7 separate regions of the Homo sapiens genome follow, and all the other regions are linked to region 3. The links are contacts of gene promoters, found by promoter capture Hi-C in blood cells and fetal thymus (Javierre and others, 2016). All regions are on one chromosome and are shown on one strand. Each heading gives the region's core, a stretch centred on a gene start or on the middle of the fragment in contact. The rest is flanking DNA. Distances are from core to core; before and after follow the strand shown. Region 1 has its middle 62 kb from the start of PROKR1. Region 2 overlaps APLF (aprataxin and PNKP like factor). Region 3 holds the start of GKN1 (gastrokine 1). Region 4 overlaps APLF (aprataxin and PNKP like factor). Region 5 overlaps APLF (aprataxin and PNKP like factor). Region 6 overlaps APLF (aprataxin and PNKP like factor). Region 7 overlaps GFPT1 (glutamine--fructose-6-phosphate transaminase 1).

Evidence for each region. Contacts are between HindIII fragments. The CHiCAGO score rates a contact against its expected background, and 5 or more counts as called.
Region 1: a contact is called between a fragment that was not itself captured here and the fragment with the promoter of GKN1 in region 3, in 4 of 17 cell types (activated CD4 T cells, naive CD8 T cells, total CD4 T cells and 1 more). The highest score is 8.1, in activated CD4 T cells.
Region 2: a contact is called between a fragment that was not itself captured here and the fragment with the promoter of GKN1 in region 3, in 12 of 17 cell types (non-activated CD4 T cells, activated CD4 T cells, total CD4 T cells and 9 more). The highest score is 9.6, in non-activated CD4 T cells.
Region 4: a fragment that was not itself captured here is called in contact with the fragment with the promoter of GKN1 in region 3 in 5 of 17 cell types (total CD4 T cells, naive CD4 T cells, M2 macrophages and 2 more); the score reaches 6.3 in total CD4 T cells.
Region 5: a contact is called between a fragment that was not itself captured here and the fragment with the promoter of GKN1 in region 3, in 4 of 17 cell types (naive B cells, non-activated CD4 T cells, total CD4 T cells and 1 more). The highest score is 6.0, in naive B cells.
Region 6: a contact is called between a fragment that was not itself captured here and the fragment with the promoter of GKN1 in region 3, in 1 of 17 cell types (activated CD4 T cells). The highest score is 5.5, in activated CD4 T cells.
Region 7: a contact is called between a fragment that was not itself captured here and the fragment with the promoter of GKN1 in region 3, in 1 of 17 cell types (M1 macrophages). The highest score is 6.4, in M1 macrophages.

What each region holds. Positions count from the first base shown.
Region 1 is chr2:68,580,184-68,583,095 of GRCh38, reverse strand. No RefSeq gene overlaps it. Among named protein-coding and RNA genes, the nearest start is that of PROKR1, 62 kb to the left of the region's middle. The HindIII fragment of the contact is 1,344 bases long and covers 874-2,217 here.
Region 2 is chr2:68,487,475-68,490,674 of GRCh38, reverse strand. APLF (aprataxin and PNKP like factor) reads right to left here. Exons shown (of 10, transcript NM_173545.3): 2 at 414-485. Among named protein-coding and RNA genes, the nearest start is that of APLF, 21 kb to the right of the region's middle. The HindIII fragment of the contact is 1,449 bases long and covers 1,210-2,658 here.
Region 3 is chr2:68,973,276-68,976,152 of GRCh38, reverse strand. It overlaps GKN1 (gastrokine 1), which reads right to left and starts at 1,517. Exons shown (of 6, transcript NM_019617.4): 1 at 1,464-1,517. The coding sequence starts at 1,475. The HindIII fragment of the contact is 2,059 bases long and covers 896-2,877 here.
Region 4 is chr2:68,504,108-68,506,984 of GRCh38, reverse strand. All of the region lies in intron 3 of APLF (aprataxin and PNKP like factor), which reads right to left. Among named protein-coding and RNA genes, the nearest start is that of APLF, 38 kb to the right of the region's middle. The HindIII fragment of the contact is 2,210 bases long and covers 468-2,677 here.
Region 5 is chr2:68,536,792-68,539,626 of GRCh38, reverse strand. It overlaps APLF (aprataxin and PNKP like factor), which reads right to left. Exons shown (of 10, transcript NM_173545.3): 7 at 1,400-1,755. Among named protein-coding and RNA genes, the nearest start is that of APLF, 71 kb to the right of the region's middle. The HindIII fragment of the contact is 8,077 bases long and covers 1-2,835 here.
Region 6 is chr2:68,469,696-68,472,692 of GRCh38, reverse strand. The region is part of intron 1 of APLF (aprataxin and PNKP like factor); the gene reads right to left. Among named protein-coding and RNA genes, the nearest start is that of APLF, 3.6 kb to the right of the region's middle. The HindIII fragment of the contact is 2,738 bases long and covers 71-2,808 here.
Region 7 is chr2:69,351,414-69,354,314 of GRCh38, reverse strand. It overlaps GFPT1 (glutamine--fructose-6-phosphate transaminase 1), which reads left to right. Exons shown (of 20, transcript NM_001244710.2): 9 at 3-56. Among named protein-coding and RNA genes, the nearest start is that of GFPT1, 34 kb to the left of the region's middle. The HindIII fragment of the contact is 7,303 bases long and covers 1-2,901 here.

The sequences.
Region 1 (2,912 bases), core at 296-2,795, 390 kb after region 3:
GAAATGATTTTAAATAAAATAATAAACAATTTATCTATAATACCGGGGGAGAAGATAAAGAATTTGAGAATAGCTGGTAGGTGGGTAGATGCAGGTGAGAGTTTGTAAAAGTTCTCATTGAATAGCTTCAATTATCTCAGTGAAGTAGGAAGCTAAATCTAATCTCAGTTCTTAGGTGTGTAACCATTCTATAGCAACTGACAATATTAACTACTTCTTCCTTCTTAATATTCATTCTACTTTCAGCTCCCGTGACACAGAAAGTTCCTAACATTCCTCTTCTTCTAATTCCTCTGAAGAATCTTTTTATCTATCTTCCTATCCCTTAAATTATGACACTAAATATCTTGTCCTCAACTCTCTTTTACCACTTACTCCTTTGGTGACTGTGGTAGACATTACTAGTGTTCACTCTGTTTCTCATCTTTTCTGGACACCCATAAGACTGTACTTCCCAAGCCCCTTCTAGTGGTTAAAGCCATGTAATTACTTCTGGCCAATGAGCTGCAAACAGGAGTGATGTCACTTCAGCCTGAAGCCTTTAATTACACTATAACCCTCTACTTTCTGTATTCCCTTGCAGTCATGATTAAGAAGGTCTCACGATCCAGATGATACAACTGCAAGAAGGCAGAGACTGTAAAATGCTGGAATGCTGAGTTGCTACATGGAAGACAGTGCCCTAGAGGGTCACCCAACACAGAAAATCTTGGCATAAGAAAATGTTCCTTGTGTTAAGACACTGAGATTTTGGGGTTATCCTAGCATAACTAGTCTAACTGAATGGCACAGTGACCTACTGGAGTGGTTCTCAAAATTTTCAGCCTCAGGAGTCTTTTCACTCTTAAAAATTACTGAGAAACCCAAAAAGCTTTTGTTTATGAGGGTCGTATTTGTAGACAGTTACCATACTGGAGATTATAATTGAGAAATTTTTAAAATATTTAGTAATTCACTTAAAAAGAAGAGTAAACCCATTACACACTGATACATGTATTTTATAAAAAATAATTATATATTTTAAAGAATTTAGTCAGATGAATGGCATTGTTTTACATTTTTGCAAATCTCTTTAATGTCTGTCTTCTCTAGAAGACAGGTAGATTCCTGTATCTGCTCTCCTATGTTGTTTTGCTTAAAGTACATGGAGCAAACCAGGCCTTACACAGATATGTAGTTGAAAAGGAAGGAGTATTTTAATAGGCTTTTCAGGTAATGGTGGATATTCTTCTTGATGTCACAAAAATAGACAAATTGCAGTTTCTGGAAGATTAGTTGAAATATGGAATCTGAAACCATATTAATGAACTTAACAGACTCTGTTACATTAAGTCCATTGCTTCATCTTACACTTTGACTGGATCTCTTACCCATGCCTGGTTTTATAACATCATACACTGGTTATGTGGAAAATGTTGGCTTACTAAGTTTTGCAGCTCTTCCAAATATTGATACATTTTATTATATCATATCACCTACAATATCATCAGAATAGTTTTTAGAGTTTTGAAAAGCTATCAAGCTAATGGTGATGAATCCAAGTTCTTCCAAAATTCTGATTTTTGCTTAAAAGCTCAAATTTCAGCATTACAGCAAATACTGTTGGTTGTTTTCCTTGAAAACAGGGCTCATTTAGTTCATGTTTGATAAAACATCTGCCAAATACTGAAGTTTGAATAATCATAATATGTCTGCCAGTCATTCTTTCAAGTAAAAATTTTGTTCCATAAAAAAATCTGTTAGTTCATCCTGCAACTCAATCACACCAAGATTTTCTCATGACTGAGACTGTATATACTTCAGTATACAGCCAGAGGGGTATTTCTGTTACACTCTAGCTTCTCCTTCTCTGACTGGTCCCATTCTATCCACTATGTTATTTGAATGCTTGCCTCATTGCCTTTGTAAAATCTTTTACTGTAGATACCATTTCTTTTTCTTTTTTGTATCTTTCATGGTATTTAGTAGTCACTGTCACTGAATGAATAAATATCCTATTGTCCAGAATAGAGAGTAAGCACATTGAAAATAGGGACTCTATGTTATTCTTTGAATTGCTGACACCTAAGACAGTATCTTGGGCACAACAGAGTATAAATGTGGTTGTTTATGATGATAAAGTTTATTATGTACATTATATTAGGGTGGCCAATAATAATCTCAATCATAATTATTCCTTATCACTTTACTTTCAGTACATATTGTAGAGGTGAAGCTTTGTAGGCTAGGTTTGTAGATTGGCAGGAAAAGATCCCCCTCCCCCACATGCACACACCATTATGGACTCCTGGCCAACAAAGAGACTGAATGGGAATGAGGTGGTCTCACAGAGCAGGGCTGGATGCAGCGTGCTGGTGGACAGTTTCCCCCTCAGTGAGGTGTGCTGGTGACACTGAACAATTAGTTGTAAGAAACTACCCATTTACTCTCAGCTTTACATCAACATTCTGGAGTAATTATGCTCACAATCTATCTGCTTTCATTACAATGAATGTTTAGGATCCTCTAGTTCTAGAAACTCAGTATCAATAGGGCCATCCTCAACCAGGGGAAAACACCAAAGTCAGTGTTCAAGTGTCCCCCAAAACTCTTCAGGTCTCCAGTTTCCCAGGGTCCTAGAAAACCCATCCCCCCTCAAAAGTTTAGCCAGAAAATATTTGCTTTTAAAATTAGGCACATAGGTGAGAAATGTATATATGATAATTTTTACCATGACAGAGGAGGCTGGGATATAGTTTCAGTTCCAGGAACACCATGACAGGGAGAATTGGCTCTTATCCACTGTATAGAACAGCAATTAATTTAAAAAATCAAGCTTTGTTAATGGTGCTCTTGAGACCACTGACAGCCTAATGTTACCGGTTTTCCCTCTGTTTTGGAAAACACAGATCTAAACACAGTCCAATTACACT
Region 2 (3,200 bases), core at 685-3,184, 490 kb after region 3:
AGTTTTAGAAATATTCAACTCTATACAGAGTGATAGAGAATATGTTAAAATATAACCCTATAACATTTAAGTTACTTTGGTCACTACCCCAGCTCAAAAAACCAACCATTAATAGTTATGGGCTTTCTTATTATTTGGAGTATTCAATTTTAAACCAAATCATAATATATACATGAACTGGCAGTCATCTTTCATTGAAATTCTAATTAGGTAAATGTGGCATTGTCCTATGAGAAAATATGTAGTTTTCCTCACAGTTTAGATCTTTATCTCCTAATTATTTTCTGGCAATGAGAAGGGTATATTCTGACATTAATTCCCTATTCCCATAACCTTAGAAAATAGGCACCTCTGCTTGGGAACTGAAAGGGTAAGAGATGAAAGTTAAAATGAATCATTAATAACATATTTACCGGTTTGATTCGCAGCTGACCACCTGCCACCTCAAGAATGGCATGTCTTCTGGATACTCTCTTGTCTGTTATCTATACAGTAAAAAAATTAAAAGATTAAGAATAGCCACCTCCTTAAAAAGCAACAAAACAAAAAGGCAAACGAAACCCTTGGCGATGTTTCTGAAATCAGTAGACTAGATATGAAATATATCATTCATTCAACAACTGTATATTGAAATGATTGTCCTCATTTAACAAATAATGAGATTAAAAAAACCTGCCCAAAGTCATGGAAGAGTCAACAACAGAGCCTCAAGCCTAGAATCTAACGGATCCCAAAACCTTGCATGATAGTTTCCATTCATGACAGACATCTACTGGGGATTCTTACCAAGAAAATTCATAAAATACGAAAAGTCTGTATATAATATGTACTTACCAGAAAACATTTCAAATACAAGAAACATATAGTATGTCATGATGATAAAGGTTTTAAAAGGAAGAGATCCCATGCTCGAGGATCTGGTAAGTGTAAAAGGGTCTGACTATAGGCTTTGGGGTCAAAGAGACCCAGATCAGGCAGAACTGCATGCAAACTCTGGGGCCATCAGCAGCAGTTAAGAGTTCAGGAAGGCAAGAAGGGGAATAGTGAAAACCAAACATTTTCAGTAAGAAATAAATTAGCATTTTTTAAAAATATCTATTTGCTTCCTGTTTTGAGCCAACAGTGTTCTACTTAGGCTCACAATCATTTCCACATACCAAAGTTCAAAAATTGTTTGCATGTTAAATGCTGACAGTGCCAATCAAAGCTTTCCCTTTTCACTGTAAATACAATAGTTAAGATTGCCTTTTTTATTTGTGGTTGATTGATAGATAATGAAAACATGTTAAGCACCAACTTCAATAACACCATAACTACCTGACCCATCTCTTGGTAACCTTGATATTCAGCACTTGAATGTTGGCATTATCCGCATAAGGACCAAAATTATCAGTAAAAAATAGACCATACCAACACATAAACTCAATTAAACCTATTAGTTCCACAAAAAATGTGAAACTGCCAGGAGTCAGTACTCATTTTTTTAACCAGATAGCTGTTCCACACTTAAGGCTGTAACATATAGACAGTAATATCAAGCATCGGAATGAGTATCACATGAATGAATTTTTCACAATCTATTGTTAGCCACAATGGCTATCCAAGAAGTAAGTACAAACTAATAATCTATTGTTTCAGAAAAAAAGAGGCTAAAAATTTAAAGATTCCTTTCTTTTTCCCAGATTGTACCTTTTTTTTTATTATTATACTTTAAGTTTTAGGGTACATGTGCACAATGTGCAGGTTAGTTACATATGTATACATGTGCCATGCTGGTGTGCTGTACCCAATAACTCGTCATTTAGCATTAGGTATATCAGATTGTACCTTAGTAGGCTAAAAACAACAGCAGTTATCTGATGACTCATTGCATCATTTGCACAGAACTTTCACTTAAATGTTGTGATTCAACATAACATTGCCATAGCTATTATTAACACTTTACATAGAAATTGAAAGTCCAGAGAATTTAGGTAACTTGGGTAGGTCACTCTCCAAGTAGGCAGCACTCCAAATCCACACTCCTTTTAATAAAAATAGGTAATAGGCAGGGTGTGGTGGCTGCAATCCCAGCACTTTGGGAGGCTGAAGTGGGAAGACTCCTTGAGCCCAGGAATTCAAGACTAGCCTGGGCAACACAGTGAGACCCCCATCTCTACATAAAGTAAAAAATTAGCTGGACAGAGGGCATGTGCCTATAGTCCCAAATATTAATACTTGGGAGGCTGAGGTATGAAGATTGCTTGAACCCAGGAGGTCAAGGTTGCAATGAGCCATGATCGTGCCACTGCATGCCAGCCTGGGGGACACGGTGAGACCCTGCCTCAAAAAAAAAAAAAAAAAAAGATAATAAATGTAGAACACATTTATACATGACTGTACCTACATGTAATCATTCAAAAGTAATTTCAAAAAATGCGGCTGAGAGTAAGCAGTTCCTATTTCTGACTTGGGTACCAAAATCTCATTGTTACTTCCATACTACGAACCAATTTTCTAACCAACAGAGTAATAAGCTATCAAATATAAAACTATGGCATATAAAGCTGGTTCCTTTAACAGTCCATCTTAAATTTCTTTCTTTCCTTTTTTAAACTGTATTTTTTCAGGAAGCAATACATGAACTTTTCCTATCTCTGTCTTTCTTTGAAGTAAGCTTCACTGACACTACGAAGATAAAAGACATTTTAAGTAATATAAAAGTATAATGTGACCTCTAGTGGACACATAACTCCACAACAGTGTAATTTCATTACAAGCTATGTGTCTTTATAGAATACAAAAAGAATGCTATAAACAATCTTTGAAATTAACATCACTCAGACATTTATAGTGTTCCTTTTAAAGTAAAACCCTAAATAGTGAATACACAATAAAATAACCATTTGCACTTTCTCAATGGGAAGCATAAAGGTTTAATAAATTATCATTAAAACATTTTAATGTCACGATTGATATACGGAGAGGGGTGGGGAGCAAGTGACAAACAGATTATCCTAAAGATCTGATGATCTGCTTTATTTAACAGCCTATCACTGCTCCTTATACAGAGTGAATATCCAACACATTTTTATTATTTATTAATACATCAACTGTAATAACAATCAATTATCAACACCAAAGCACCATTCTAGACTTGTCATGTATCATCTTTTTCAGTCTTCACAAAATCTGTGAAGATACTATTATTATACTTCACT
Region 3 (2,877 bases), core at 268-2,767:
TCCAAAGCAATGGATTAGTAGGCAGTTTGGATGCCAATGATGAGAAAGCAAGTATAGAGTGTCTCGCTGGCAAGAGTGATCAGCAGAGGCGATGTCACTAGCAGTGTCCCAGGATACTTGGTTTAATTATTTATCACAGGGTCCCTGACATTGGTTTTCAGAGCACAGAGCTTTATGCAGGGTGCCTCATTCTGGGTACCTAGTCTCATTTCCTTTGCCTGGGACAAAATAGTTTTGAGAACTGCTCTAGAGATTCAAGGTAACTTTTGAAAAAAAATTAAATTTTTCTCCCAATAGCTTAAAAAGGAGTTAAAAATTAGTCTCCTAAAAAGTCAGAGGTAGAAGAAATTTTAGAGAACACCTAGTACAATGCAATCATTTTACAGATAAGGTAACTGAGCTTCAGGGGTTAAGTGAGTTGGCCAAACTTATACCTCTTGTTCACAGCAGAACTAGGAGAGAAATCAAATCTAACCTGTGTCTGGAGCTCCCTCTGACCCTTTTAAACTTTGCTGCTATTAAGAGGACCTAGTTCTAGGTAGTCATTTTACATTTGCAGCCCCATTATAAAGTAGAGTCTGCCGTAACGTTTTCCAGTGTGTAGTATGTTGAAACATGAAAATAGTCATCTGATTCTAGCCCCTTTGCATCGTGTTGTGAGAAACCCGGCACTACTAGTTACTTTGGCAGGGTTTCTCGGTCCACCTCCTCCTAGACTCTCAGGCTTCTGTCTGGAACCACAGGAGAGATGCTGTGGTAGCTTCATGTTTCAGATGCTTTCTTAAATAAATGGCCATGCTAGAGCCCAAGGCAAATCTTTCTTTCTTGGAGACCCATTTTACTGTAACAAATGTGACAAGAAGTCTATCTCAGCCACTTATTTTGATAATAAGCTTTTCATCTTTCCTGAACATGCTCAGGAATTTTGGTAAATAAAAGGAGGAATTCAAGAATGAGGGATGATCGGCACTTTCTAGGGCTTAGGAACTGCTTACCCTGCATGGAGACCGGAATCAGGTGATGCGGAAAGTCATTTTGTTAAAAATAGGTCAGTGTGAGGTGCTCAGACAGCTGTCTAATCTCAGCACAATTATCCTTCTCTATAGAGATGCTTATAAATGCCATGATTATATAAATAGAAAAAAGATTTTTTTTCATTATTTCTTCTTCTAAAAAAAAGGGATACATGTGCAGAACGTGCAGGTTTGTTACATAGGTATATGTGTGCCATGGTGGTTTGCTGCCCCTATTGACCTGTCCTCTAAGTTCCCTCCCCTCACTCTCCACCCCCCAACAGGACCTAGTGTGTGTTGTTCCCCTCTCTGTGTCCATGTGTTTGAAGAGAGAATTTTTTTAAAACAAATTTTCCATGATGGGGCCATAAGAAGCAGACCTCCTAAATCTCAGAATATTGACAGTCTCCAATCATTTGGTGGTAAATTCAAAAGGAAAAATCTACTCACTGTGAACTTCATCTTGTCTTCACGAAAGCAGTGGACAGAGGAGTAGGCAAGCATGGACCTGAATGAGAAGCCTTCTCATATTTGTACTTAACCAGGTTGACTCAAACTAGGTGTTATCAGGTGGGGTCAAAGACTTACCTTCCTCAATTTCTCCTATCTGTGCCATGAGCCAGTGTACCAGGAAACCTTTCAGAATATCTGCATGCTTAGCAAGGAACTTTCACATGGAGTTGACCTGACTCATCACTTGTTGAAGCTGAAGGTATCACAACAAACTCAATATGATTTATGATAACTTCTCACCCAGTCAAAGCTGTGGGCGTGAGTATTTTACACGCTAACATTGCTCAGATTCAGAAAAAGAATAATCCCTAAAATCAAACAAAATCACAGCTGAAAAGCCACGTGTATACTAGGCCTTCCAGATAGCAGCTCCTATAGGAATGTAGGAATGGTTTCCACTTCTTAACTTTTATCTGAGCCCATGGCAATGGTTTTGCTTAGACTAAACATGTTTTGTGAGCAACTCCCACCAAACCTACCCCTTTTCTGCAATGTTGAGCTCACTTAATGATAGCACCATATATCTGGTACAGCCCTTTCTTCTCAGTCTGACATCTACTTAGTTACTGTCATTTTATCTCTGAAATGCCTCTCAACTCTGACCTTGCCCACAGCTCCCCTCACCTGGACTTTCACAACAGTCATGCAATTGATCACTCTGGTCACCAGTTTCTTATATTCCAATGCATTTTCTTCATTAACCCTGAGGTTGTCTTTCTGAAGTGCATAGATAGACATGACTCTATCACGCTTGGAAATTTCGCTGGCAGCCTACAGAAAATTCAAAGTCATTGGAATGGCATCCAGGGTCCTATGTAATAAGATTTCCAAAGGCTTCCCGTCTGCCACTTTATGCTATGTACCTACATTCTAGCTCCACCAGCGTTCCCACCATTCCTGGAAAAGTCAAGATGTGTATGTCTCCATGCCTTTGTACATGCTGTTGTTTTATCTTGGAGGGCCACCCGCTAGCCTCTCGCTTGGTAGACTCCTGTTCATTGTTCAAGGCTCAGCTCAAATATCACTGCCTCCATCACATCTCCCCCATCTGATAGATAGAACTTTCCTAGTGTTTGTTTTTTCCTTCTGGGAACTATAAAAGCAATATCTTTTTATTTGCTTCTAGATAATTTAGTTTTCAGAAGTTACATTAAAATAATAAAAAATATTTTCATCAAAAGCAGAGAGTAGAAACTATCAATTGGGCAGACAAGTAAAAGCTCAAAACAGGTTTGGAGGTGAGTTGGTTTTAATTTTTTTCCTGCTTTTTCCTATACAGTGAAGCTAGTAAATTAAATTTGCCAAGGAGGAAAACTGTATTTCATTAACTACCAATCTATAAATTTTCCCT
Region 4 (2,877 bases), core at 323-2,822, 470 kb after region 3:
ATTCCTATGCATGTCTTTATACTTTCATTATTTGTATATATGCATCCATTATTTTATAGAAATTATGTATGTTTTATATGTTTATAACCTTTTTGGGTTTTTTCCCTCAACATTATGGTAGGGAGATTTATCCATGTTTTAACCTGAGCTCTCTCTTAGTTCATTCTCTTTCATATAGTTATAGGACTACACCAAATTTATTTAGCCTTTCTGCAGGTGTTTTCACAATTCAAATGAGTGCTATAGTAAACATTCTCATACAGCAGAGGGTAGTTAGTAAGAGCATCAACTCTGGAAACAGCTGGCTTGAGTTTGGATCCCACCTCTGCCATGTATTAAGCTGTGACCTTGGGCAAGTCTTAAACCTTCTGTGTCCCAATTTCTTCATCTGTCATATAGGGATATTAACAATACCTAGTCCTCATAGAGATTATTATGGAGAATAAAAAGTTCATACATGTAAAGCTTGTACAACAGTAAGCAGTGTTTTTATGTGGTTGACCCTGCAAAACAGAGCTAGTTCAAAAACAGGAAAACCCCAACGATATCAAGAAACGTCTAGAAGTGTATTTCAATGCTTCCTATCTAATACATAGTCCACTTCCCCTTGCTAGCAGACAGTGGACTCTCCCTCTCTGGAAATCAGGCAGCTGCCTCCCCCGGGTAGACATCTCTCATGATGATACTGCAATTCAAGATCTGCCCCCACCTCCCCTCATGGCTTCTAATCTAATAACTAGGGTTAACTCATCATTACCTGACTACAGAAGTACTGTCCTTGCTTCAATAGGAAACTAAATATTCACTAAGAAGCTACAGGACCTAGCTAATGGCAGAAACCACAAGAATGTGCCTGTGATGGTATGATATAGTAAGAAATACATATTTTGGTCTTCACTTCTGGTTCCTGGCTAGAGCTCTGAAACAGGTGAAAGGAGCGTCTTTTGTTATTCACAATATACCCCTTTCAACCACACCTGAATGTATGTTAATGAGGTGACTTTTGGAAAGCCTCTAAAGATGAAGGGCTGGTTGTTAGGAAAACCAATCATGATTAGAGGGTAGGAACTCCCAGCCTCACCACCAGGGAGGGAAAAGGGGCTGGAGATTGACTTAATCATACTGGTCAATGATTTACTCAATCATGCCTTTGTAATGAAGCCTCCATAAAAACCCAAAAAGACAAAGTTCAGAGGACTTCCAGGTTGGTGAACAAGAACATGTCCATGTGCTGGGAGAGTGGTGTACCCCAACACTCCACTGGAACAGAAGCTCCTGTGCTGGGGATCCTTCCAGACCTCACCCTATGTATCTTCTCATCTGGCTGTTAATTTGTATCCTGTAATATAGCACTTGTAATAAATCCGTAATCTAGTAAGTAAACTGTTCCTGAGTTCTGTGAGCCCTTCTAGCAAATGACAGAACCCAAGGTTTAAATAGCCTGAGAAAAGTACAGTGCTGTGAAAGTGGGTTTATTTTCAGTTTCATCAATACGAAAAAATTCAAAATTCACTAATCCCATAACCTGATAAATTTAAAGTGTGACACTTGCCCTAAAGACACTGGTCTTTCACACTAAGGGAATAAGCTAATTTGAATCAATATAAATGAAATTTAAATAGACATATAATAGCTTAAATAAGTTATCAGGTAATGACCATATTGTGTTTCATAAGGATGCACATTTTCCTAATTTTTGAAAAAAGTATGTAATTCTATTATGAAAGTTTATTGTAACAAAAAAATCAGTTCTTTACATGTCTCATTTCAACAGCTAGTTTAAATAGCACGCTTCATACATGTATGATAAGAGAAAAAGACATGTACTTTAAAGTAGTAAGCAATGATTAATGAATTTCATTTAACTAAAAAGCAACTTCCTGACATTTTTTTCCACTTACATTTAAGCATTTTTAGATATAATTTATATATGAAATGCACATATCTGAAGTGTGAAATTTGATTAGTTTTGACAAATGCGTACACCCACATAATCTGCACCCTTAACAAGACACAGAATATGTCCATATTTGTTTAAAAGCTGAAACAAAGCCAAACAAAAAGCTCCTTTGTAGCTTCTTACTAGTCAATCCCCTTGGAAACAACCATTGATTACATTTCTATTTAACAGATTAGTTTACTTATTACAGAACTTAATATAAATGTAATCATATAATAGACACTTTTGTGGCTTGCTTTTCTTTTTGGTAGATTACTAAGGATTTTCTAAATACAAATCATGTCATCTGCAAATAAACACAGTTTTACTTCTTCCTTTCAAATCTGATATATTTTATCTTTGTTGTATTCCCAATCTTAGGGGAAGAACTTTCAACATTTCACTAATAGGTTTTTTGTAGGAAAAAAGTTTCCTTCTTTTTCTTGTTTTCTCAAAACTTTTAAAAATCATGAAGAGGTGTTGAATTTTGTCAAAATTATTTTTGAGCATCTATTAAAATGATAGTTCTTTAGTCTGTTATGGTGAATTGCTTCGATTTTTATACGATAAACTAACCTTGTATCCCTTGGACAAGCCCCACTTGGTAATAGAGTATTATCCTTTTTACATATTGCTGGATTTGATTTGTAAATACTTTATTATGAGGAATATTGGTCTGTAGTTTTGAGGGTTTTTTGTAAAATCTTGTCTGATTTTAGTTTCTAAATTACAGAAGCTTCATAAAATGAGTTGGGAAGTATATCTTCTTTTATTTTTTGAGAAAAAAGAATAATATTGGCATTATTTCTTCCTTGTAAGTTTAATAGAATTCATTAGTGAAGATCCTTATGGGAAATACTTAAATTATGAATTCAATTTTTAAAATGAATATAGAATTCATCAGATTTCTATTTTTCCTGCATCAGTTTTGTTTTTTA
Region 5 (2,835 bases), core at 195-2,694, 440 kb after region 3:
GAAGTGCATTGTTCCCCACCTCCCAAAATTCATATGTTGAAGCCCTAATTTCCAGTGTGACTAATTTGGAGATAGGGGCTTTAAAAAGATGATTAAGGTTAAACGAGGTCATAAGGGTGGGGCCCAACCTAATATAACTGGTGTCCTTACAAGATGTGGAAAAGAGACCAGGAAGGTACATGTACAGAGAACAGGCTATGTGAAGACACAGTGAGAAAGTGGCAGTCTGCAAGCCAAGAAAAGAGGTCTCAGGAGAAAACAAACTTGCTGACACCATGATCTAGGGCTTCCAGCCTCCAGAACTATGGGAAAATACATTTCTGTTTTTTAAGCACCCAATCTGGTATTTTGTTATGGCAGCCCTGGCAAACTAATACAATCCAAGGTAACAGAAGGTATATATACTTCCATTCTGCAAGTTTTTACATTATGGTCCAGATGTGGAACTAAAGCCATTGCATATATACAAAAATGTTTCAAAAAGCATAAATCAGAACTATTCAAATTTTAAAATATGAGTTATTCAAGTGCTAAAATGGCAATACCTTTTAAAGAGAATATGAATGTGAAATTAACAGAATATATTAAAATATACTATTGCAATAAAGATATCTATCTTCTAGAAAATCCTGCTATAGGCTTTTAAGATACAGTGGGGGGAACTGAATGTTTTATATGTATACATGCTGACTAGTGTCTTATTGACACAGAAGACAAACTACTGGAAAGGATTGCTAGGATATTTGGTTTGGCAAGTTGGAATGGCAAGAAATCTTTCTGAAATAGGGTTATGTAATTATAAACATGTTACTATAAACACTATGGATGAAAGTATAGCCTAAAACTAAGAGATTATAATTTGAATTCTCAAAATAAGAAATTAGAGTATATAGGGCAGTGTAAATAAATGAAGCAAGTATAGGAGCAACCCATCAATCCAGGATTATTATATTCAGTTGTTTTACAGGGTACCATGATGATTCAAAGCACCATTACAAAAATATAAAGAAAAGACACCTAAATACAACTTAAAATTATAGTTATATTGTAGACAACAACTCTGTAGGAAGCCATCTCTCTAATATTTAAGAAAAGACTAAATAACAGGTATTTAGATCTGGGGGATTCAGTCTTCATGTCTGGATTCCCCAGTATTCAGATCCTCACATTAGTCAGCATGTCTATATATAAAACATTTAATTCTCCCACTGTATCTTAAAAGCCTTAAAAGGATTTTCTAGAAAATATACTGAGGAAGTACAAATAGTAGAAACACGATAAAGCCCCTAACCTTTAGGCCAGTGGGTTTTATTAAGTTTTTAATATACTGTAGCATGTATCTACATAGCTACACGCTATCAAAATAATGGAATTAAATGTTACTGTAATTTCATTTTACCTATAGCAGTTTGCCCCATACATGCAGGATGTCCTCTTGACCTTGTTTCCTTCAGAACCTTGTAGAACTGAATCAGTTGCCTTTGCATGCAAAGTTTCAGGATTGGAGGGATTAGAGCTGGACTCAGAATGAGACCCTTGAGACTCATCCTGAAGTGAGTCGCCCTGGGCACTCGAACAATTTTCAGAACAGCTCATTGCCTCATCTTCTTTATGTGGTGTTCTTTTAGTGGCAATTTTATGTTTAGAAACTTTACCAAGTTCCTCTATTGGAAGTTTGTTTCTCTGTGCATTAGTCTTAATATTATTCATCTCTGTGTTACTTAATGTGATTGCAGAAAATGATTGTGGCATTTCCTGTAAAACAAATATGAAAAACATCAGAAATAAATGAAACATTTTTAAAAAGATATGAGCATAACAGCACAAAACTACAAGATCCATGCAAAATGTAAACTTAAAACTTCAAGATTCACATTTTAAAGTTCTTAAATGCCACTATTTTCTATGCGCTTAGTTTAATAACTTAAAACATTTTTAGTTTTTTGAAAAGAAATTTGGCCAGGCACGGTGGCTCAGGCCTGTAATCCCAACACTTTGGAAGGCTGAGGCGGGTGGATCACCTGAGGTCAGGAGTTTGAGACCAGCCTGGCCAACAAGGTGAAACCCCGTCTTTACTAAAAAATACAAAAAATTAGTTGAGCATGGTGGTGGGTGCCTGTAATCCCAGCTATTTGGGAGGCTGAGGCAGGAGAATCGCTTGAACCTGAGAGGCAGAGGTTGCAGTGAACTGAGATTGCACCATTGCACTCCAGCCTGGGCAACAAGAACAAGACTCCATCTCAAAGAAAAAAAAAAAAGGAAAGAAAAGAAATTTACAGTTGTATCAAACCTTTACAATCATGTCAAACATTCAGTGAAAAATAACCAGAAAATACAAATAAAATATAAGAGAAGACATTTGCTTTCATTTGAATCTTTAACTTCTCTTAAATGTCACTGTTCAACAATGAGTCATGTTCTTAACATGCACGGTCCTTATAATTTCTCTTTTTTTTTTTTTTGAGATGGAGTCTTGCTCTGTCTCCCAACCTGGAGTGTGGTGGCACGATATCTGCTCACTGCAACCTCCGCCTCCCAGGTTCAAGTGATTCTCCCACCTCAGGCTCCCGAGTAGCTGGGATTACAGGCACATGCTACCATGCCCAGCTAATTTTTGTATTTTTAGTAGAGACGGGGTTTCACTGTTGGCCAAGCTGGTCTCGAACTCCTGACCTCAGGTGATCTGCCTGCCCTGGCTTCTCAAAGTGTTGGGATTACAGGCATGAGACACCATGCCTAGCCCCTTATAATTTCTTCTAAGCTACTGCAATACTTTATTTCTGCCCTCTAAATGTAATCATGATTTTACCATAGCTGAATGACAAAACTGTTTTG
Region 6 (2,997 bases), core at 190-2,689, 500 kb after region 3:
CACCTACCAAAATTCTAACTGTCCCAACACACCACAGTCAAACTCAACATGCTACCAAGTTCATGAAGCTTTCTTTCCCTGATCCCACCTCTTAACTTCAGGTTCCTTCTTATACCTCTCTGTACCCTGTGACATCATTCTGTCTAGCTTGAGGACTAAGCTCTGATTATTATTTTTTTTTATCTTGCCCAAATTCCTTTCTAAGGGGTCTGGGGAGTCATGCCCTACAAACCATAAATTCTCATCAGATGAGTTTTATTTAACCCTGTATAACGTGACTTACTTTCCAGTCTGACTCAGGCATAACAAGGAAGAAAATCAAAATGTTTTACCCTAAAATATATTTCTTTGCCATACCTTGGAACTGTCCTGCAAAGTCTCTTGTGGGAAAAACCCACATTCTATAGAGAATTCCCTTTCCCCTTTGTTTTCCTTCCTTCCTTTCCAGATCCAGGAGATAATCAATTAAGAGCCAGGCACTCTTTCAGGTCTCATAAGAAACATTTTACAACCTGCTATCTCTGAAGTCCGCTATCTGAGAGCTCTGCAAAATAAAACTTCGTCTCCACAATCCTTTATCTTAACCTGAACATTTCCTTTGATCTTAGGTCTTGAGATAAACTCAACTAATTGTCAACCAGAAAATGTTTAAATTTACCTATAGCCTGGAAGCCCCTGCTTTGGGTTGTCCTGCCTTTCTGAACCAAACCAATGTATTTCTTAAATGTATTTGATTGATGTCTCATGCCTCCCTAAAATATATAAAAACCAAGCTGTACCCTGACCATCTTGGGAACATGCTCTCAGGACCTCCTGAGGGCTGTGTCACGGGCCATGGTCACTCATATTTGGCTCAGAATAAATCTCTTGAAATATTTTATAGAATTTAACTCTTCATCAACAGACTCATGGTATTTAACCAAAACTTTTAATAAAAATGTGACCTTTTAAAAATCAGTGATTATATCTAAAAATTCAAATTTCTTACTATTCTTAAAAAAACAATATGACACTGTTACCAACTGGGAATAGGGGAAAGTAGCAGGGATTGCATAGAGACCCTCTCCTTGTGGCCTTCCCAACACTGAGGCAGAACTGTTGTCATTTATCACTGTCCCTGTGTTGTTTTTCTTCTTCCCTCCCACTTCGCTTACTCCAAGTGTCAGCCTGGCGCCAGTCCCCATGTGAGGTTGTAGCCTTATTTAGTTACTAATACTTGTTTATTTGTCTCTTAACCCTACAAAACTATAAGTTTCTTGAGAGCAAAGACTTGTTTCTCATTCACCTTTATTTCTCCTATACTCCCTCCCATCCAACCATAGTATATATTTATCAGCTATTTCCTGAATTTAGCGAATTATCAATCAACAAAACAGGAAAAATGTTAAAACTTAATTCATTATGAATGCTACTCAAGATTTAGCAGTTGGTAGGACTGCATCTTTACTATATTTAAATTCACTTCAAAACTCAATGATAACCCTTTTTCATATCTAAGTCACAATTAGGCTCTTTTTGAGGGTAGAGTGAATGAGAGGCTGAGATGCCGAAATGGAAGGAAGAAATCACGTGTTAAAGGCCTACTGTGTGCTAGGCACTGGTTGTAGGCTAAATAATAAAATGAGGGAAGGGCAAATCTAGAAATAAAAGAAACGTAAGGGAAGAAACCTATGTTGGAGCAGGTAGGAACAGCATTCCAGGACAGCCAGGATTCTGCAACAAGCAGTTAAAAGTATAGAGCTGCCAGGTCAGGGGATGGTTACTTTGTGTAAACTTTGTAGAACATTTACAACATTCTTAGAAGTGGTGAACTGATGCCACCTGAAGAGTCTATACTGAAGCCTATGACCTTCCCTGTTCCCCCAACTGAGGACTCTTCTCCTTTTAATCAAAGCAGTCAATTTAATTACATCTACATTGAGAAAGTATCACTAGATATCTTTTGCTATCTTGTTTCCTAGGAGGAAAATAGATCATAAAGAAATGTGTCATATAATCCCTGCTGTCAAAACAAAATAAGAAAAATCTGAAATCAGAAATAGTAGATTTCATTTAAGAGTGTAACAGCTTTAATTAAAACCCATAAAGCAAATACTTTGGCCTAACAGTGCTTGACATGTCGTACTGTAAAACCCTTTTAAATTAAATTTCTTAAGATAATGGTAGATTCACATGTAGTTGAAAGATATAATATAGAAATATCTCTTGTACCATTTATCCAGTTTCCCCTAATGGTAACGTCTTACAAAACTATAGTACAATATATCAACCTAAGATATTGATACTGACACAGTCCAGACAAAGCACATTTCTATCACCACAAATATCCCTCATGTTGCTATTTTATAGCCATATCCATTCCCTTCTGCCCTGCTGCCTAATTTTTTAACCTTTGGCAACCACTAATCTGTTCTCCATTTTTGAAATTTTGCAATTTCGCAATTTCAATGATGTTATATAAATGGAATCACACAATATGTAATCTTTTGGATTGGCTGTTTTAACTCAAGTTCTCTGAAGATTAATCCTGCTGTAAAACCTTCTAACTGATGCCAATCATGGAGCAGAATCAAAATCTAGTAAACAAAGACCTGGGGTTCTCTGATGACTCACATGAAAGCAAAGGGAACAAGAAAGATTAAATTTCATTGTCCTTTGTTCTCTGTGACAGGTTTCTCTGTTGTGTTTTCCTACCACCATAAAAATACAAAACCATTCTCATTGTCAAACTGTTTTACTACCAAGACTATTTTACACAGTCAGATTATAAACTTTTATGTTTGTGTGGCCATCAAGGTTTGTGAAGCTTGTCTCAGAAAAACATGCCCAATTAAGAAAGTTCAAAATCATCCTTATTTATATTAATCGTTTCCGATTCCAATTTACAATGAACTTACTGAGTTTTCCACTTAGAACTCAGTCTTCGCTCTCTCACAATACAAAAATAAATCTCACTGGAATTGCTGTTGTTGGAAACAGGAGCCCTTATGTTGTGTT
Region 7 (2,901 bases), core at 1-2,500, 380 kb before region 3:
AGCTAGGACTCAGATTGGATCAAAATTCACACGGTGGGGATCACAGGGAGAAAGAGGTGGGAAATGCACTCTGCATGGATGGGGAGGATCTTATCCTCTTTTGTTTATTCTTTACTAATTCTTTTGTTCTTGGAGTGAATGAATGTGCTGGGCCTCTAAAAATGTGCTTATTTTGTGGGGAAGCATATTTTGACATTTTTCTAATTTGCGGAGTATATTTTGCGTGTCTGCTTTTGGCATTTAGAAAGTGCTTTTAATAATTTCATTAAAATTTCTGAAATTTGAGAAAATAGTTGAAATTGTAAATTATTTTTTCCTTTGTTTTAAAATCATGTAGGATGTATGCTTAGATTAGGAAAAGAGCATTGTGTGCTAGGTTATTATAGATTGACTAAGTGGTAGTTATTTGAATCATTTAGGCTAACTTTTAACTGAAATATGTTTAAGTGGTCTTTATTTTTTATACATGACATATTGTTGGATTTACATTTGCTATCTTGATTGGCTTTATTTGAATTTGTAGTGATTGTTCTTTTATATTGTTTATGTGTAAAGTTTATTTTTTGTTTTTCTTATTTATTTACTTCGATGTAACTTTTTTATAGAGCGGCAGGGGGAGACAGGGTCTTGCTCTGTTGCCCAGGCTGGAGTGCAGTGCAGTGGTATGGTCATACCTCACTGCAATTTCGAACTCTTGGGCTCAGGTGGATCCTCTTGCCTCAGCCTCTCAAATAGCTAGTACTACAAGCGTGTGCCATCATACCCAGCTAATTCTTATTTTTAGCCAGGGTTTTGCTCTCTCAGCCAGGCTGGAGTGCAGTGGTTTCGTCATGGCTCACTTCAGCCTTGGCTGCCTAGGCTCAAGTGATTCTCCCACCTCAGCCTCTTGAGTAGCTGGGACCACAGGCATGTGCCACCACCCCCAGCCAATTTTTTTATTTGTAAAAAGGAAGTCTTGCTATGTTGGCCAGGCTGGTCTCAAACTCTTGGGCTTAAGGGATCCTCCCACCTCAACCTCCTAAATTACAGGGATTACAGGAATGAGCCACTGTGCCTGGCTCCCAGCTAACTTTAAATTTTTTGTACAAATGGAGTCTTGCTATATTGCCCAGGCTGTTCTTGAACTCCTGGAGTCAAGTGATCCACCTGCCTCAGCCTCCCAAAGTGCTGAGATCACAGGTGTGAGCCACTGTGCCCAGCCCAGAAGTGTTCTTTTCATTTAAACAGACATTGATATCTCAAATTTTTTTTACCTTATTTATTTATTTTTTGAAACAGTCTTGTTCTGTTGCCCAGGCTGGAGTGCAGTGACATGATCTTGGCTCACTGCAACCTCTGCCTCCCGGGTTCAAGCGAGTCTCATGCCTCAGCCTCCAGAGTAGCTGGGACTACCAGTGCACACCACCACACCCGGCTAACTTTTGTATTTTTAGTAGAGACGGGGTTTCGCCATTTTGGCCGGGCTAATCTCGAACTCCTGACCTCAGGTGATCCGCCCACCTCGGCCTCCCAAAGTGCTGGGATTACAGGTGTGAGCCGCTGCACCCAGCCTCAAATTTTTTTTACATATTTTAACTAAATATACTTTGTTATTTGAAGAATGAAATTATCAATATTTGGAGAAAAAACACAGTGAAACTCAAGCCTATTAGGACATTTTATAAGCAAAAGTAGTTGTTTTTTTTTTTTTTTTTTTTTTTTTGAGACGAAGTCTCGCTCTGTTGCTCAGGCTGTAGTGCAGTGGCGTGATCTCGGCTCACTGCAACCTCGGCCTCCCGGGTTCAAGCGAGTGTCTTGCCTCAGCCTCCTGAGTAGCTGGGATTACAGGCACGTGCCACCACACCCAGCAAATTTTTCTATTTTTAGTAGAGACGGGGTTTCAGGCTGTTGCTCAGGCTGGTCTCAAACTCCTGACCTCATGATCCGCCCACCTCGGCCTCCCAAAGTGCTGGGATTACAGGCCTGAGCCACCACACCTGGTTGCATTTATTTTTTTAAAATGCTGAGCTCTCTTTTTATGTGTTTTTAAATTCACTTTTTTGTTTTGTTTTTGAGACAAAGTCATGCTCTGTCACCCAGGCTGGAGTGCAATGGCACAATCTCACCTCACTGCAACCTCCACCTCCCAGGTTCAAGCGATTCTCCCACCTCAGCCTCCGGAATAGCTGAGACTACAGGTGTACTCTACCACTCTCAGCTAATTTTTTGTGTTTTTAGTAGAGACGAGGTTTCACCATGTTGGCCAGGCTGGTCTTGAACTCCTGACCTCAAGTGATCTGCCCACCTCGGCCTCCCAAAGTGCTGGGATTAAAAGCATGAGCCACTGTGCCTGGTCTCTGTTTTTTAACATACAGTAATATTTACTCTTTTTCATGTAGTTTCACCAATTTTGTCAGATGCGAAATTGCATAAGTACCACCATAATCAAGATACAGAACAATTTCATCACTCAATAAGGTCCCTCAACCTGCCCTCTGTCATCAACCCTTGTCTCATTCCCAGCCCCTGGCAAACACTAATATGTTATTTTTCTATAATGTTACTTTTTCTTGGATGTCATCTTACATTTATTTTTCAGTTTGGCATCTTTGCTGTTAAATATGAATGGGAAAAGTTACTTTGTTTTCATCACTAAAACATCAAATAATCACAGATGGTGGAAAACTTCGAATATACTTTTTTTGGCTTTTATTTTTAATAGATATATAATTATATGTTTATGTGGTGTATATTTCAATACATGTGTACAATGTATAATGATCAGCTCAGGATAAATAGCACATTTGAATGCACATTTCTGATAATTATCAAGTCTGCCTTTATATGTGCATTTTAAGAGGATAGATGAAATAGCAGTTTTTATAAGTATACTTGTGATGTTCTCTGGCTATTGTGTCCATA